2 separate regions of the Homo sapiens genome follow, and region 2 is linked to region 1. Evidence: promoter capture Hi-C in 16 types of primary human blood cells and fetal thymus (Javierre and others, 2016). All regions are on one chromosome and are shown on one strand. The core of a region is centred on a gene start or on the middle of the fragment in contact, and the rest is flanking DNA. Distances in the headings are between cores, read along the strand shown.

Region 1 (3,101 bases), core at 592-3,091:
AGTCCGAGATCTATAGGGAGGGTCATCTGGAAGTCCAAGCTAGGACTTCGTCATGAGCTCAAGCTGCAATCCACAGGGAGAATTTCTTCTTTCTCAGAGCAGCCTCAGTTCTGCACTGAAGGTCTTCCACAGATTGAATCAGGCTTACCCAGATTATGAAGCATAATCTTCCTTAAACTGATTATAAATCTTAATCATGTGTACAAAGCATCTTCACAGCAACACCTAGATTAATGTTTCATTGAATATCCTGGAGACTGTTACCTAGACACACTGACACATAAAACTGAATATATCAATATCAGAAAATATGTCTATTACAAAAAGAAGTATTAATGGAGGTAAAAGGGACCACTTCGTAGGGATTAAAGATTCAATCTACTAGGAAGATACATTTGAAATGTACCTGCACATGATAAAATAGCTTCAGAATACATAAGGCAAGAATAGGCAAAGTGAAAACAAAATAGCCTAATCCACATTTATGGAGGGCAATTTTTAACACATATTTTACAATAACTGATGGTACACACAAACAAGAGAATTGTTAAGGATATGCAACATAGTATACATAAATAACATGATTAACAAACTTGGTCTATGGCCATAGGTAGAAACTGCTCCAAACAACTGCAGAAAACATATTCTATTTGAGCACACATGGAGTATTAAAAATTTTTTTTTTACCATATACTGGGCCAAAAGTATATTTCAACATATGTCAGAGAAGTGAAACCATACAGAATATGTTAATTGATTTCAATGTTATTAAGCTCAAAATAAGTAATAAAATGTAATTATATACCAATGTCTATGTAACTGTACATAATTAGTGGAAACTTAGAAAATCCCTTAAAATAAGTCATAGATTAAATAATCAAAACATACAGCCAGGCGTGGCGGCTCATGCCTGTAATCCCAACACTTTGGGAGGCCGAGGTGGGCAGATCACTTGAGGTCAGGATTTCAAGACTAGCCTGGGCAACATGGCGAAACCCTGTCTCTACTGAAAAAAAAAAAATACAAAACTTAGCTGGGTGTGGTGGCATGTGCCTGTAATCCCAGCTACTCAGCAGGCTGAAGCAGGAGAATTGCTTGGATCTGGGAGGCACTGCACTCCAGCCTGGGCAACAGTGAGACTCCATCTTAAAAAAAATTGTCATCATTATCATCATAACACAAATAAGAAATTATTTAAAACTGGATACTGAAAATACTATAAAACTTTTAGAGTAAAACTAAAGCATTTATTAGAGGAACTATATATAACCTTAAATGTATATGCTAGGGTGGGAAAAGCTAAAATTTAATAAACTAAGCTTTAATTTCAAGAACTTAGAAAAAGAACAACAAAACCAAAAGGAATTGGAGAGAAGGAAATATCAAATGATAAGAGCACATAGCATAGAAAACATATTCAGTAGAAAGGAACAACATCACGAACAGCTAGTTTTTGATACAAATAATAAAATGGGCAAACCTCAGTTGCAATTAGTCCAGAAATATAGAAGGCAAAAATAACTAGTATGCAGGAATATAAGGGAGAAAACATTACTTAATCTAATGCAAAATAAGCAGAAAGTAGTAAGCTGTATGAAAAGTTTTGAATACTTATAGAAAATGGACAAATTTCTGGGAAAAAATGTGTTACCTAACGCTGTAGGCATGGTTCAGTTTGTATCTGTCCTTCTGACCTCTCAGTCTCAAAATGAAAAGCCAAATGTATTTATGAAATTCTGCCACTAGGGGGAGTTCCTTCAGTCCCGCTCTCAGGTTCACTGTGGTTGAGTTTGTCATGATGCAAAAGTCCACTCCTTGCTGTGCCAGTTGATTGAGCAGAACCACTTGAAAACCAAGATGAAATGTTTTCCTCCTCAAGCAATGGCCATAAAGAACTGCCCATGAGGTCACACATGTGATTTCATGAAAAAATAAGGCAATATCCCAGGAGGAGTTGTAGGAATCTGGGTCACCTGCTCATGTCACTTGGTTGTGATTTCTGGACTTCTTGAAGCCCATCTTGAAGTCAGTTATATCATATCCAAATTCACTTCATAATGGATTATTGCTTCACATGCCCAACCTTTTAGCTTGATGGGTCACAGAGCACCTACTTCATGATGGGCAGTTTGTATTATATATTCGCTTCATATCCCATAGTAAGGGTATCAGTCTCTACCAAGGCCTGGTAATAAGTCAGAAGCTCTTTCTCAAGAGATCCATCATGTTCTCAAAAACAGAGCATGGCTTTGCAACAAAAGTCCTAGGGGTCTTCACTCTGGGGCACACCGACATTCTTAATTATTCCAGATAATTCAAGTATAATTTAATCTTGAGTTATAAACCTCAAGTTGTAAAGCTTCTTATACTACAGCCTGGACCTGCTGCAGAGCCTTTCCTTGAACTGAGAACAACTCCAAACTGGAAGTCTTAAGATTTACGTAGTAAGTGGGTTAGAGCATCCAATCATAGTTGTACATTTCCTCCAAAATCCAAAGGTGACTATCAAGAATTGAGCTTCTTTGGTAGGGGTAGGATGACCTCCCATTTTATCTCTGATCCTCTTTAAAGCTAATGTGCTCAACTTATCTCTAGGGATTAAGTAATGACACATTGCCTTTGACAATTCCATCATCCTGATTGAAAGCAGTGTGATTATATCCGTTGCAGTATTTCTTTCTGTCATCCCCAATAAACTGATCATAAATCTTAATCCTGTGTACAAAGCACCTTCACAGCAACACCTAGATTAACGTTTCATTGAATGTTCTGGGGACTATAACCTAGAAACATTGGCACATTAAACTGACCATCATAAGTATGTCAATATCAGAAAATATATCTTTTACCAAACAAAGTGTTAATGGAGATAAAAGGGCCAATTTTTTAAGGATTAAATATTCAATATACTAGGAAGATACATTAGAAATTTACCTGCACATGATAAAATAGCTTCAGAATATGTAAGGCAAAAATAGGCAAAGAATGGCTTCAGAATATATAAGGTGAAAAAAAATAGGCTGAACCAGGTTAGTCTTCACAGAGCTTTTCATGGACACTTGTGCTGTCTTTACCAGTATACTACTTGAGGGGTAAGAGCA
Region 2 (3,320 bases), core at 349-2,848, 57 kb after region 1:
TGTCAATGTGCCATTTCTAGGAGGGGGCTCGTTGTATGTAAATCACTGAGGTCTTCTTTGGGGGTTGTTTTTATCTATATTTCTTATATTTACCCCCCAAAAAATGTTTCAAGAAAATTGACCTGAGTCTAAGGAGGCTCCGCCTCCCAGGATCCCCCTTAACTTCTTCCCAGCCCCCAGCCACACAGTTTAAAATAATCTGTTGAGGCCAGGCACGGTGGCTCACACCTGTAATCCCAGCACTTTGGGAGGCTGAGGTGGGTGGATCATGAGGTCAGGAGATCCAGACCATCCTGGTCGACATGGTGAAACCCCGGCTCTACTAAAAATACAAAAATTAGCTGGATGTGGTGGCGTATGCCTGTAATCCTAGCTACTTGGGAGGCTGAGGCAGGAGAATCGCTTGAACCAGGGAGTCAGAGGTTGCAGTGAGCCGGGATCGCGCCACTGCACTCCAGCCTGGCGACAGAGAGAGACTCCGTCTCAAATAATAATAATAATAATAATAATAATAATCATCATCATCATCATCATCATCATCATCATCTGTTGAATTCAGGTGCACATTTCTTCTCTCAAGAAATCCTGCCCATCGCTGAAGGTGCACACCCCAGGGCTGGTGTCCTCGTTCCATGACACCTGTTCACCTGGACCCCTGGAAGCAGAGCCTGCAGGAGCAAAGCCCCAGGGCTGACAGACCCCGCCTGCTGTGCAGTAACCAGGGGAAGTGTGGCTGAGTAAGATACGGGTGGTGAAGAAACCCATTCTGATACCCAGATAGCTGCAACAAAGGGAGAAGTGTGTGCCCTTTTCAAATTGACCCTTTCCCTTCTGACATTTCTCCCTTCCAAACCCCACAGTACAACAGTTACAGCCTCAGTTTCCCAGGCCTCCTGCGAGCCAGGCTTCCCCCCGCCCCCCGTCCTTCGTGTGTATCAACATGCAGAATCCTCACCTCCACAGCCCCGTGTCCCTCTGCTCAGGCCTCCTGAGACTGAACCCCTGACCTAGGGGAGAACGACCCCACCTTGCCTGTGCCCCCCACTGAAGCTCCCGTCCTGGGGAGCTCAGACGTCAGGAGCCTCCGTGTCTCCCCTCTGCACAGTGACTCCTTGAGGACAGTGTCTGGCTCTGCTCTGTTGACCTCGTTGTGTAAAGAGGAGGTGCCCACTTCGTTGCTGCTGAGAGAGGGAGGAGAGGCTGCCTGCTCACCTCACCTGCACCCCAGTCTCTCATGGCCCTGAGTTCCACCTTTGGCTGGTATGACCTCCACAAACAGTGACAGCCCCGGGGGTGATTCAGGGGTCTGGCCAGATGGGACCCAATTTCACCTTGCAGAAAATGTTACCCAAATGGAAGGGCAAGTCCGGGAAGCAAGAAAGAGGTTGGGCCCTGCATAGGGTGGGAATCTGGATGAGTTTCTCACCCTCTCTGGCCTCAGGGTTCCCAGGAGTGGAAATGGGGTGGTGGACAGTGGATCTCCCAGGACTGACCCGGCCCTGACAGTGTCTGTGTGTGAAGTTCCTCCTCTGAGGAGGTCACTTTTCTGACTTCACCCCCAACCTCCTGCGGGACCTCCCCTAAGTCTTGAGACCTCAGTTTCTGAGAGAAGAACCCTGAGGAACAGACGTTCCCTGGCGGCCCTGGCGCCTTCAAACCCAGACATGCTGCTGCTGCTGCTGCTGCTGCCCCTGCTCTGGGGGACAAAGGGGATGGAGGGAGACAGACAATATGGGGATGGTTACTTGCTGCAAGTGCAGGAGCTGGTGACGGTGCAGGAGGGCCTGTGTGTCCATGTGCCCTGCTCCTTCTCCTACCCCCAGGATGGCTGGACTGACTCTGACCCAGTTCATGGCTACTGGTTCCGGGCAGGAGACAGACCATACCAAGACGCTCCAGTGGCCACAAACAACCCAGACAGAGAAGTGCAGGCAGAGACCCAGGGCCGATTCCAACTCCTTGGGGACATTTGGAGCAACGACTGCTCCCTGAGCATCAGAGACGCCAGGAAGAGGGATAAGGGGTCATATTTCTTTCGGCTAGAGAGAGGAAGCATGAAATGGAGTTACAAATCACAGTTGAATTACAAAACTAAGCAGCTGTCTGTGTTTGTGACAGGTAAGGCACGGGCTCCAGCACAGGCCACAGGGGAAGGTCATGAGGGGCTGAAAGGCAGGGCTGGGATGGGGCCTGGGAGGGGGTTGGGATTGAAATAAGTCGGTCTCCGGGGAGGAGCTGGACCAGAGCTTGAGCTTCCTCCAGGGCTGCACCTGAAATACCTCCTCCTGATCCTGTGTCCCCATCTTCACCAGCCCTGACCCATAGGCCTGACATCCTCATCCTAGGGACCCTAGAGTCTGGCCACTCCAGGAACCTGACCTGCTCTGTGCCCTGGGCCTGTAAGCAGGGGACACCCCCCATGATCTCCTGGATTGGGGCCTCCGTGTCCTCCCCGGGCCCCACTACTGCCCGCTCCTCAGTGCTCACCCTTACCCCAAAGCCCCAGGACCACGGCACCAGCCTCACCTGTCAGGTGACCTTGCCTGGGACAGGTGTGACCACGACCAGTACCGTCCGCCTCGATGTGTCCTGTGAGTGCTGGACCAAGATGCCCAGGTCCCTCATGGGTTGGGAGGTGTTCCTGAGGGCAGGGGATGGGGTTCAAGCCTGGACACTGGGTTCTGGGTCCCAGAATCTGGGCTGGGAGTGGGGTCAGGAGAATGCCGACTCCATTTTCCCTGTATTTGCAGCTCCTGGGAAGACAGGGCCAATGTCCCCAGTCCTTATAGTAATGTGGGTCTTCATGTCTTTCTGTCCCAGACCCTCCTTGGAACTTGACCATGACTGTCTTCCAAGGAGATGCCACAGGTAGGACAGAGCCCCCTCCCTGGGGTTGGGGGAGCAGGGCCTTCAGCTCAGGATGGGGCTGGGTCTCTCCTCATCCTGGAATCACTTTGGGAAACAGAGCTGCCACTGTGCGTGAGCCCAGGGCACAAGAGCCCACATCTCCAGCCCGCGTGACCATCTGAGCCCCTGTCCCCATCCTGTCCCTGCTCCCCTTAGACTCCTCCACACACCCCTTCCTTGGCCCCACAGCAAGGACAGGGTGACATTCACACAGCTGGATCAGACTCCCAATTTTTTTGGTTTTTGTTCGTTTTTATTTTGGGACCAGACTTTCAAGTTTCTTGTCAGGCATCTCCTGAATACTTCCTCTGTCTGATCTTTCTGTTTTCCCAGTAGTTTCGATCTAAGTACTTCTGCCCAGATGATACAGTCACATGGGCAGAAATTCAAAATGCACAGCAAAGTCTGTCCTC

What was found. Contacts are between HindIII fragments. The CHiCAGO score rates a contact against its expected background, and 5 or more counts as called.
Region 2: the fragment with the promoter of SIGLEC8 here is called in contact with a fragment that was not itself captured in region 1 in 4 of 17 cell types (monocytes, megakaryocytes, activated CD4 T cells and 1 more); the score reaches 7.4 in monocytes.

What each region holds. Positions count from the first base shown.
Region 1 is chr19:51,513,730-51,516,830 of GRCh38, reverse strand. No RefSeq gene overlaps it. Among named protein-coding and RNA genes, the nearest start is that of SIGLEC12, 13 kb to the right of the region's middle. The HindIII fragment of the contact is 1,040 bases long and covers 1,322-2,361 here.
Region 2 is chr19:51,456,732-51,460,051 of GRCh38, reverse strand. SIGLEC8 (sialic acid binding Ig like lectin 8) reads left to right here and starts at 1,598. Exons shown (of 7, transcript NM_014442.3): 1 at 1,598-2,118; 2 at 2,313-2,591; 3 at 2,821-2,868. The coding sequence starts at 1,665. The HindIII fragment of the contact is 20,005 bases long and covers 1-3,320 here.